Regions from separate parts of the Homo sapiens genome. Here region 2 is linked to region 1. The links are contacts of gene promoters, found by promoter capture Hi-C in blood cells and fetal thymus (Javierre and others, 2016). All regions are on one chromosome and are shown on one strand. The core of a region is centred on a gene start or on the middle of the fragment in contact, and the rest is flanking DNA. Distances in the headings are between cores, read along the strand shown. Region 1 holds the start of CRTAP (cartilage associated protein). Region 2 has its middle 12 kb from the start of MYD88.

Region 1 (5,975 bases), core at 1,501-4,000:
TGTGGCATTCTAGCCAAAGAGCTTAATCTGAATTTAGTCATGAGCTTAATCTGAATTTAGTCATGAGCTTAATCTGAATTTAGTCATGAGGAAACATCAGGAAAACCTCAAATGAGGAACTTTTTATAAAGTTAACTGGCCTGTGTTCTTTAAAAAAAAAAAAAAAAAAAGGCCAGGCGCGGTGGCTCATGCCTGTAATCCCAGCACTTTAGGAGGCCGAGGCAGGTGGATCATGAGGTCAGGAGTTTGAGACCAGACTGACCAATACGGTGAAACCAGTCTCTACTAAAAATACAAACATTAGCCTGGCATGGTGGCACGGGCCTGTAATCTTAGCTACTCAGGAGGCTGAGGCAGGAGAATCGCTTGAACCCTGGAGGTGGAGATTGCAGTGAGCTGAGATCATGCCATTGCACTCCAGCCTCTGCAGCAGAGCGAGACTCCATCTCAAAACAAAACAAAAAACAAAAAAAAGACTTTATTTTTTAGAGTGGTTTTAGATTCATAGCGAAACTGAGCGGAAACTACAGAGTTCAAATATACTCCATGACCCTACAACATGCGCAAGCTCCCCCACTGTCAATGTCTTGCACTAGAATGGTACATTTGTTACAATCAATGAACCTACATCAACACATCGTTATCACCCAAAGTCCGGTTTACATTAGGGCTCACTCTTAGTGTTGTACATATTATGGATTTTAACAAATGTATAGCATATATCCACCATTATACTATCATATAGAATAGTTTCACTGCTCCAATAATCCTGTCCTCTACCCATTCATTCCTCCCTTTCCATAATTCTCAGCAACCACTGATCCTTTTACTGTCTCCATAGTTTTGCCTTTTCCAGAATGTCATTTGGCTGGAATCACACAGTATGTAGCCTTTTCAGTTTGGCTTCTTTCAACCAGTAATATGCATTTAAGACTTCTCCATGTCTTTTCATGGCTTGATAGCTCATTTCTTTTTGGCTTGGAATAAAATTCCATTGTGTGTATATACCACAGTTTATGTATCCACTTACCCACTGAAGGACATCTTGGTTGATTCCAAGTTATGGTAATTGTGAATAAAGTTGCTACAAACATCCATTCGCAGGTGTGTGCATAAGTTTTAACCCATTTGGGTAAATACCAAGAAGTGCAATTTCTGGATTGTATGAGTAGAGTATGCCTAGTTTTGTAAGAAACGGCCCAACTGTCTTCTAAACTGTATGTACCATTTTGCATTGCCACTATCAATGAATGAGAGTTCCTGTTGCTCCACATCCTTGTCAGCATGTGACGTTGTCAGTGTTTTGGATTTTGTAGTGGTATCTCATTGCTGTTTTGGCCTATATTTTTCAAAAATGACAACGGCATGACAAGAAAAGCCGAGGAACCAGTTTAAAGGATATGAAATAGACTAGATGTAACAGTGATCACGGATGGACTGCATCCTAAGAGAAAAAAGTGCCATGAAAGACATAATTGGAACAGCTGACATAACCGGAAATGGAACATGATTAAAGTCTTCTATCAGTATTAAATTTCCTAAATTTGATTGTCTGGTAGTTTCATTCTTAGGACATACATACTGAAAGACTAAGGGGTTGGGCACGGTGGCTCACGCCTGTAATCCCAGCACTTTGGGAGGCAGAGGCAGGTAGATCACCTAAGGTCAGGAGTTCAAGAACAGCCTGGCCAACATGGCAAAACCTCATCTCTAGTAAAAAATAGAAAAATTAGCCAGGTATGGTGGTGTGTGCCTATGATCCCAGCTACTCGGGAGGCTAAGGCAGGGAGAATTGCTTGAACCCGGGAGGCGGAGGTTGCAGTGAGCCGAGATCGCGCCACTGCACTCCAGCCTGGGTGACAGGGCGAGACTCCGTCTCAAAAAAAAAAAAAGGAAAAAAAAAAAGAAAAAAAAAAGACTAACGGACAGTGGGCCTGATACATGCAACCTATCTCAAATGAGTCAGAAAAAAATGTAAAGATAGAAATGTGGTATAACGTTAGCAACTTGTGAATCTTGATGAAGGGTATATAGGAACTTTTTGTACTGTTTTTGCAGCTTTCTTGTAAATTATTTCAAGATTTAAAAGTTTAAAGATTTTTTAAAAGTGCTGCCATTAACATTCCATCCATATTTTTTGATGCACACGCGCAAGCTTCTCCAGCATATTCCACCGAATGGTGTTGCAGATTCATAAGGTGTGCACATCTTCAACCTGACTAGCTATACAGTTTACAAAGTGCTGACATCCTTATTAATTTTATTTTTGCACTGTCTTTTTCTCTCACTAAAATTTAAGGTTGGGCAGTGCTATTAAAAGTGCGGCCCTTGGGCCCGCAGCATTAGCCTCATCAGGGTGCTGGTTAAACACACAAATCGTCAGACCTCCACCCCAGACTTTCTGAATCAGAAACTCTGGGGGCACAGCCCAGGAATCTTCGTTTTCACAAACCTCCAAACGAATATAAAGATCGTAGATTATATAGACCGTAGGGCCGATGTATATAATCTATTAGGGCCGCGTCGGCCTTGCAGGCGGGTCTCCAAGTGAATGAGCGGCAGAGTCCCATCATGCGCATCAGCCTGCGTGAACCAGTGCGCAGCGCGCCTTTCCCGGGCACCCTCTAGGTGCTGGCAGCTGGCGCCCAGATCCCCCGGCTGGGTGGGGAGGGGCGGCCGGACGGGGCGGGCCGGAGGCTGGCGTCCCCGCCCCGAAAGCACTGGGCCCGCCGCGTCGCACCGTCCTCTTTCCTTTCCTTCTCCCTCCCCTTTTCCCTTCCTTCGTCCCTTCCTTCCTTCCTTTCGCCGGGCGCGATGGAGCCGGGGCGCCGGGGGGCCGCGGCGCTGCTAGCGCTGCTGTGCGTGGCCTGCGCGCTGCGCGCCGGGCGCGCCCAATACGAACGCTACAGCTTCCGCAGCTTCCCACGGGACGAGCTGATGCCGCTCGAGTCGGCCTACCGGCACGCGCTGGACAAGTACAGCGGCGAGCACTGGGCCGAGAGCGTGGGCTACCTGGAGATCAGCCTGCGGCTGCACCGCTTGCTGCGCGACAGCGAGGCCTTCTGCCACCGCAACTGCAGCGCCGCGCCGCAGCCCGAGCCCGCCGCCGGCCTCGCCAGCTATCCCGAGCTGCGCCTCTTCGGGGGCCTGCTGCGCCGCGCGCACTGCCTCAAGCGCTGCAAGCAGGGCCTGCCAGCCTTCCGCCAGTCCCAGCCCAGCCGCGAGGTGCTGGCGGACTTCCAGCGCCGCGAGCCCTACAAGTTCCTGCAGTTCGCTTACTTCAAGGCAAGTCCGCCTCGCCCCGTCCCAGGCCCCGGCCCCGCCCCTGACCCAGCCTCCAGGCCCTAGCCCCGCCCCTGCGCCCGGGGCCGCGTTGCCCCTCCAGTTCTAGACCTGGCTCCCTCCCATCCAGCCCTGCCAAAGGTCTCCTCCAAGTCCTGTCTCCTTCTTCATCTCAACTAGAGATGAAAATGCCTTTCTTGAAGGGTAACTCTAAGGTAGAGAATACGTACACAGAACGCAGTACAGCGCCAGGCACCCAACAAAGTGCCTGATAAATGTTCTCTGTTATTTGAGGGCAGACGCCTCTTTTCTGTATATACCATTAAAGTCGCCTTTTTTCTCAAGTGAGCGGTGACTTGCGATAATAAAGCAGAAGACCTGAGGAGCCGACAAGTACCTTTTATTTTTATTTTTTGTTGAGACAGGGTCTCACAGTCGCCCAGGCTGGAGTGCAGAGGCGCTATCATGGCTCACTGCAGCCTTGACCTCCTCAGGCTCAGGTGATCCTCCACCTCAGCCTCCTGAGTAGCTGGGATTATAGGCGCGCGCCACCACACCTAGCTAATTTTTTGGTATTTTCTGTAGAGACAGAGTTTCGCCACGTTGCCCAGGCTGATCTCGAACTCCCGGACTCAAGTGATCCTCCCACCTCGCCTCCCAGAGTTCTGGGATTACAGTCGTGAGCCATTGCACCCAGCTGACTAGTTCCTTTTAAAGAGGATGAAATTGAGGCCAGGGAAGGGCAGGGACTCCTTGCAAGGACACATCCCTGCTTAAAGGGGAACTCGTGCACCGTGAGTCATCAGGATTGGCCCTCTCCGCTGTTTCTCTCTTTCATCTAGAATTTAACACAGTTCACTGCCTCCTTTTAATGGCTGCTTAAGTTCTCTCTGTGATTGCTGGCTAAAAATAGCCACAAATTGCAGTTCTCTATCCTATGGGTTCTCACTCCGAGGACCCACAAGTTTTAAGAATGGTTAGATTCCCTGTCACTAGATAAAGAGGCTCTAGCTTGGTGGGTCCTCACAGGGTTTGGCTAAAAGAGCCCTCTCAAAGCCCAGTTTCTACTTTCTCTGAGAAAGATTTTAAAAGGAATATATTGTGTTTTTTAAAATTACTACAAAAATAGATTCATGGCATATCCTAGACTCTTGAGGTAGAAGGTTTTTGTTTTTAAACTTTGTTTTCAGTTTCTGGACTGCAAGATCTGTTTTTTCAGATTTCCACCGAGACAGAGCCACGTGTATATTGTATTTATATGAGCAATAAAATAACACAAAACCCCAAAGAGGGGAAAAGCTGGGTTACTTCTATACTTCTATGCTTAGTTACAGTTTTATTTAAAGTATCAGTTTTGTGAATGTTTGTTCTGGCAATTAAAAAAAAACAGTTTTAAAACAGAAGCAGGGAATGAGATTAATAAAATTCCAGAATGTTGAAAATGAGGGCTGGTTCATACAAAGCATCATTTTTTAAGCTAAAAATGACTTATCTAATTCTTTTTTTGTATAGCTTTTGGCAAATATGTTCTGAACCAAATTTAGGTCACATAATCAAGAGGAAATCATTTTATTTTTAAACCTAGAGAATACTAGAACCTCTGATTTCTTTAATATACAGATGAATTTGAACAAGTGTTACAGGGAAGAGGGGAAGAACATTTTACTCAATGTGACCAAAAGGCATGGGTTTTCTCTTTCATCATGGTGGCCCCAAAAGGTTAGGATGGTCATAGCTTCTCTTCAAAACCCTTTACAGGTCTTGTAACAATCACTTAGTTGAAAGTCAGTAAAATACTATCTATCTATCTGTCTATCTATCTGTTTTTTTTGAGACACAGTTTCACTTTGTCACCCAGACTGGAATGCAGTGGCACGATCTCAGCTCGCTGCAACCTCTGCCTCCAGGGTGCAAGCAATTCTTGTATCTCAGCCTCCTGAGTAGCTGGGATTACGGGCATGTGCCACCACACCCAGCTAATTTTTGTATTTTTAGTAGAGATGGGGTTTCACCATGTTGGCCAGGCTGGTCTCGAACTTCTAACCTCAAGTGATCCACCTACCTTGGCCTCCCAAAATGCTGAGATTACAGTCTGGGATTTGAACCACCATGCCCGGCCACCATCTTAACATTTTGAGATCTCATATAGGGCAGGAAAAAGCTAAGAATTTTATTAATAAACGTGAATGTTACTTAATTGTTTCAATGGAAGATATAACTGAAAAAGTAATTTTTGGTGGAGATATTGTATGGTGTATTTTTTCTCAATGATGTTTATGGCTTGGCATGATGGCTCATGCCTATAATCCCAGCACTTTGGGATGCCAAGGTGGGAGGATCTCTTGAGTCCAAGAGTTCAAGACCAGCCTGGGCAATATAATGAGATCTCATCTGTACAAAAACATTAAAAAATTAGCCGGGTGTGGTGGCGTGCCTTTCTAGTTTCAGCTACTCAGGAGGCTGAGGCTGGAGGATCACTTGAGCCCAGAAAGTCAAGGCTGCAGTGAGCTGTGATCTTACCACTGCACTCCAGCCTGGGTGACAGAACAAGACTCTTGTGTCAAAAAAAAGTGATGTTTACGTGTTTAAACTCTGTTTATGGATAGAGAGGAAAAGATGGGTGGCAGGCACATACATTCTACCTGGCACCTGAAGGCTGGAGGTCGATATGAAGGTAGATAGTGCGCTGTGGC
Region 2 (5,975 bases), core at 2,293-4,792, 5.0 Mb after region 1:
AGTGGCTGCCAGTGTTTTGGGATGGTGAGGGAGCGGAGTGGGTGTGACTACAAAGAGGCAGAGCTTTACGATGTTGCAGTACAGGCCGGGTGAGGTGGCTCATGCCTGTAATCCCAGCACTTTGGGAGGCTGAGGTGGGCAGATCACAAGGTCAGGAAATCAAGACCATCCTGCCCAACACGGTGAAACTCCGTCTCTACTAAAAATACAAAAAATTAGCTGGGCATGGTGGCACGCACTTGTAATCCCAGCTACTTGGGAGGCTGAGGCACGAGAATCACTTGAACCCAGGAGGTGGAGGTTGCAGTGAGTCGAGATTGTGTCACTGCACTCTGGCCTGGGCGACAGAGCGAGACTCCATCTCAAGAAAAAAAAAAAAAAGATGTTGCAGTACGGTAGCTCTGTAACTTGATTTTGGTGGTGGTTACACAAATCTATACATGTGGTAAAATGGCATAGGACTCTACACACGTGTTATACCAAGGTCAAGTTCCTGGTTTTGATATTGTACTATAGTTATGTAAGATGTATTCATTGCAGGAAATTGTGCTGAGGATATAGGAACTTCCCTGTACTATTTTTGTAACTTCCTGTAAATCTACAATTATTTCAAAATAAAAAATTCAAGCAATTTTTAATTTAATATAATTAATATAGTTTAATATTGTATTAATATTAAATTTTATTTAATTTATTAATTAATAAGTTAACATATAAGTAAAATTTGTTTTGAGATGGGGTCTTGCTCTGTTGCCTGGGCTGGAGCACAGAGGCATGATCATGGCTCATTGCAACTGCAACCTCTGCCTCCTGGGCTCAAGCAGTCCTCCCAGTTCAGCAACCTGAGTAGCTGGGATTACAGGTGCAGACCACCACACCAGGCTACTTTTTTTTTTTTTTGGTAGAGACAGGGTTTCACCATGTCACCCAGGCTGGTCTCAAACTTCTGGGCTCAGGTGATCCACCCACCTCAGCCTCCCAAAGTGCTGCTGGGATTATAGGCATAAACCACTGTGCCCAGCCAGAAGTAAATTTATTAATATTGATACTGAAGTTTGCTAATATTTAATAATAATATTTTATATAAATAACATAAAATTAATGTTATTTAAATATTTTAATTAAATATATAAATAAAGTAGAAACAAAAGCCCCTGGGTGCTTATGCAATGACCAAAGCTTAATTTTCCATCTTGTTTTTTAAAGGAAGAATATTTTTCATTATAAAAGTGATCACTGATAACTATATTTATGCATATGTAAAAGAATATGTATTTTCAACCGCAATTTCATTTTATGTTGAAAAAATTGACCAACTTGGCTTTTGAGGACCTACTTATTATATTGGTCCAGGTCAAAAGCAGAATATAAAGCTAAGCTAGGCATGGCTCTGTTCTCAAGAAACTTAAAACCCAGTGGAATAATTGAAGCACAAACACAGAAGATCTGAAGAACTCAAGAGTTAGGCAACAGAGTCCTCCATAACATATGTGCTGGCTGGTGCCAAAGACAGTATGTCCTACAAGTCCTGCAGACAGGCCTCTGTGGGACAAAGGTCTTGAAAAGATGACCTTTAGGGGCTTTGGAAGGTGGTAGAATTGGCAGGTAGACACCAAGAGGGGAAGGAGATTCAAGCAGTAAAGAAATAATTTAAGCAGAAGGGGAAAGTGAGAGGCATATTTAGGAGCAGGGAGTAGACTGGTGGGATAAGACCCTCCAGGTTCAGTAGGAATGACTGGGGGCCCTGGAACTCAGGCTGCAACAGGGAGCATGGATCGTGTCTGGTTAGGAAGGAATTGTTAAAACCAGAGTGTGGAGAAAATTAGTTTAGTGGTCGTACGCAAGACAGATTAGGGAAGTTGATAAGCACAGTAGTAGTTTCTGCTTCAGGCAGCTGCTCAAACAAAAATGAGAAATGAAGTGACTGCTGGATAGGAAGGAGAATCTGGAGTCTCCAGAATTTCCTCCTTCCTCAGATCAAATGGCCCATTCCAGTGTTCCTTGTCCTAAACACTCATGCATTAATTCAACTTGCAATGACCTATCCCTGAGGTCATGAGGGTGGGCCAAGGCCAAGGACATATGAGATAGGTCTCATGTGGCTCTTGTTAAAGGAGATTACTCTGGTTGCTTATCCATAAGTGAAAATGAATGTGTTTTAAAAACAACAACTTCAGCTGCTTCAGGTGTTACCTCTTTCTAAAGCAGGGCTATCCAACAGAAAGATATTCTGAGCCACATACATAATTGAAAAATTTCTAGCAGCCACATTAAAAAAAGTTGTAAGAAACAGTCAAAATTAATTTTAATAACATATTTTATTTAACCTAAGGATCTAAAATATATAGAATATATGTAAAATATCATTTACATAAAAATGTCATCTCTAAAATATTATTTCAACATGTAATCAATATAAAAACTATTGATGAGATTTTACATTGTTTTCACATTGAATCTTAAAAAGGTACTTTGTGTGTATTTTACAGTTACAGCACATCTCAATTTGGACTAGCCACATTTCAAGTGCTCAATCACTACATATGGCTAGTGGCTACTATATATTGGATTGTGCTTCTAAAGAACGCTGCTACTCAAAGTGTGGTCCCTGGACCAGTAATATTGACACCATTTATTAGAAATAAAGACTCTCAGGCCCTACTCCAAACCTGACTCATACATTCTGTACTTTGATAGGAGCCCCAAGTAATTAATAGATATAGAAAGGTTGAGAAACGTTGCCCCATGCATTTGGGAAGAGAGACCTAGGATAATACAGTGTTTTTGGCTACCCACCATCAACATTCCATCTCCTCATTTAGATTCCACGCCACGATTTCCCTCCAGACACAGACCAAAACCAAAGAGCACCTCTCTTTTTTTTTGAGCACTATGATTGGTTCAGGTATGTCATGTGACTTGAACAGATTCAGTGAGACACAATGACTCCTTTGGTAGCTCGACTGTGATTGAATGTAAAAGGTTTTAAATTCTGGAGAGTGATGGGAGGAGAGCCATCATGCTCCAAAGTGGCTCCAGAATTTATATTTGTGTATGAAGGTTTATGTATGAAGCCTGTAGAGAAAACCAGATACTGAAGACATCATGTGAGCCCCTGCTTCAAGACTTACTGCCAGAATTTTCAGATATGTGAGCCAGCAAATTCTCTGTTTGTTTAAAATAGTTTGAGTTGTGTGCTAGATATTATCTGTCTTCTCCTCCACATCTTCCCTTGTTCTCCACCAGCCTCTGTGCCCCAAGATAATGACCTTCAAGGATTACATCAACAGGCTCCCCTTGCCCACTGGTTTCCTGTTGGGCTTGGCCAGTAGGAGGCACCAGTGGGAGATCAGAGAGCAGAAAGAGAATGAAGTGAGGATATTTATTCCCTTGGCTCTCTTCTTGTGGGATTGCTGAGGACTGATTACACCTCTCTACAAAAGGCTGCAGCTACTTTCAGGCAGTCTTCTCTCTCTCCTACTTTCTCTGCTTCTAGTAGGCCTTAGTCCTCTTGCTCTGTCAGGCCTAGGAATGATAATGGCTCCTGGAGGTGGTTGGCCCTAGAGTACTGCACTATTCCATTTGGTTTCCCTATTCCCTGCCCATGACTTTGCATGGCTCTTTGCACCAGGCTTTGTGACCCAAGGTATTGACCGGCTCCCCTTGTCCACAGGTTTCCTCTTGGGCTTGGCCAATGGGAGGCATCAGTGGGAGATCAGAGAGTAGAGAGAGAATACTTCCTTTATTAAACTGTCCTCAAATTGTCCATTTTGAGTGTGCCATTTGTTTCCTGTTAGGACCTGACTGGCATAGTAATTGGTATCAGGAGTAGCCTGGAGCCAAGCCCAGCTGAGTCCAACTTAGATCAGCCAAATACAATCTGATCTGCAGACACTTGAACAAGAAGTAAATGCTTAATGTTATCTACCACTGATATTTTGTGGTTGTTTGTCACACAGCATCTTTGTGGCAATAACTAACCAACGCCCTTTGTATGGTCATATGATTAAGTTATGAGCAATGGGATGTAAGAGGAAGTGATATGTTCAACTTTTAGTCTGTGACCTCAACAGAAAGGTGTGTGCCTGATATTTTCAAAACCTACCCATCTCATGCTGCAGAAATGTGGGTGTGGTGGTGGGAGCTGGAAGCTGCATGTTGAGGATGGCAGAGATGAAATCGGTAGAGCCTGGGTCCCTGACACTACAGAGTTGAACTACCACTCAGGACTGCTTACACTCAGACTTTTATGTCAGAGTGATTTCTTTCCTTTTTTTTTTTTTTTTTTTTTTTTTTAGGCAGGGTCCCACTCTGTCACCCAGGCTGGTGTGTGCAGTGGTGCAATCTCAGCTCACTGCAAGCTCCGCCTCCCGGGCTCATGCGATTCTCCTGCCTCAGCCTCTTGAGTAGCTGGGATTACAGGTGCACACCACCACACCCTGCTAATGTTTGTATTTTTAGTAGAGACAGGGTTTCACCATGTTGGCCAGGCTGGTCTCGAACTCCTGAGCTCAAGCAGTCCATCCACCTCGGCCTCACAAAGTGCTGGGATTACAGGCAAGAGTTACGGTACCCAGCCAAAGTGAAATGCATTTCTATCTGGCCAATGTTACAGCAAGAATGCTGGCATCCTAATGAACTTTGGGTTTTCTGTCACGAGCAACCGAGACAAAATGGGTTTGTTGCAAGCCCCTTGCAGTGCTCCTGCAACCCCAGTCCCTCCATGTCCACTGATAGTCTGCTTCCTGTTCTGCTGTGGGTTCTGCCCACTTTGCTGTTGAACACTGGGCCCATCTTTAGTCTGCCCTGAATCACTACTGCTCCTGTCACAAGGGCTCCCTTTCCTGCTCTACCAATAACTGTGTGGGTGTTTCCAGCTTCACTGAAGGACTAGCTGTAACCAGACAATTCATATGTCTGCTCTGTAACTTAAAGCATAAAAATCATTAGAGTAGGTATGCACATTTATAACTCAGAGGTGAGAAGACAATGTAGCTTCTTTGTTTTGCGTAATTTAATCTTTTGCATGCACCCTTGCCCTGCTGGGTGGGAAGGGGAAATTTAGCTTGCCAATTAATAATATTATCAGATTTTTTTGGTGTCGTTGTGGGTAACTTGATCACTCTTAGGCAAATGCTGTTTTTTAGGCCTCCTTCCCTTCTCCCTTCATCTTGCCAAGATGGTGTCTGGGAGTTTGGGAAAGAGAAGACTCACGTGACCTTGTGGTAGAAAGAAAGAGTTGCCTTGGATCTCTGTGAGCAGGTCCTTGTACTGTCCTCTGGCTCTGGCATGGAGTGCCTGACCTGATTTGATTCCTGACTTGCTATGTGTCACCTGCTGAGATGCAGCGGGCCTCATCTGGCCTTAGGAATGTGATGCCAGCATCCAGCACTGAAGTCTATAGTTCCAACCATTTTCTTTCAGTCACTAAGTCTCACCTCTGTAGGCTTTCATTCCAACTCTCTGTACAGGCCTCCACAACACCTCCCCATGCCTTCATGGGGCACAGGAAGCTCTTTTTCTATCTAGGATTTGAAGGGGTTAAGTTTTTGGGCAGGGCATTCTGTAGGACAGTTATATGTAATTCTATGTCAATATTACACTCATGCTCAACTAGACACTGCAGAGCTAATTGAATTAGCATTTACCTAAGAGAGACCAGGTTACCCATAATAGGAGGATAACGTCTTCACTGCCTGCTGGATGGGGTCCACTGCCATTCACCAGGAAAACGGTGCCAGTTCTGGGGGCCTAGGCCCCTTTGGACACTGGAAAATGATCTCTTTAGGTAGATTGCTCACAGCTGTGCACACGGAGAATCGTTCATAAATATTTGTGAATTGCATTTGATCGAGACTAAGGGGCACTTTAGTTCCCATTTCCTGATGTCTTAAAAATTCCAATTCAAAGCTTACACAGGCAGAGCCCTCTCTAATTTTGGTAGACCCTGAACCCTAATTCATTTGTTCAGGTTG

The links. The method cuts DNA at HindIII sites, captures the fragments that hold promoters and counts their contacts. A CHiCAGO score of 5 or more calls a contact.
Region 2: a contact is called between a fragment that was not itself captured here and the fragment with the promoter of CRTAP in region 1, in 1 of 17 cell types (M0 macrophages). The highest score is 5.1, in M0 macrophages.

The regions. Positions count from the first base shown.
Region 1 is chr3:33,111,264-33,117,238 of GRCh38, forward strand. It overlaps CRTAP (cartilage associated protein), which reads left to right and starts at 2,751. Exons shown (of 7, transcript NM_006371.5): 1 at 2,751-3,285. The coding sequence starts at 2,815. RefSeq lists enhancers at 372-581, 3,462-4,453 and silencers at 2,581-2,880, 3,321-3,510, 5,037-5,185. The HindIII fragment of the contact is 4,978 bases long and covers 2,154-5,975 here.
Region 2 is chr3:38,148,038-38,154,012 of GRCh38, forward strand. No RefSeq gene overlaps it. Among named protein-coding and RNA genes, the nearest start is that of MYD88, 12 kb to the left of the region's middle. The HindIII fragment of the contact is 4,731 bases long and covers 1,178-5,908 here.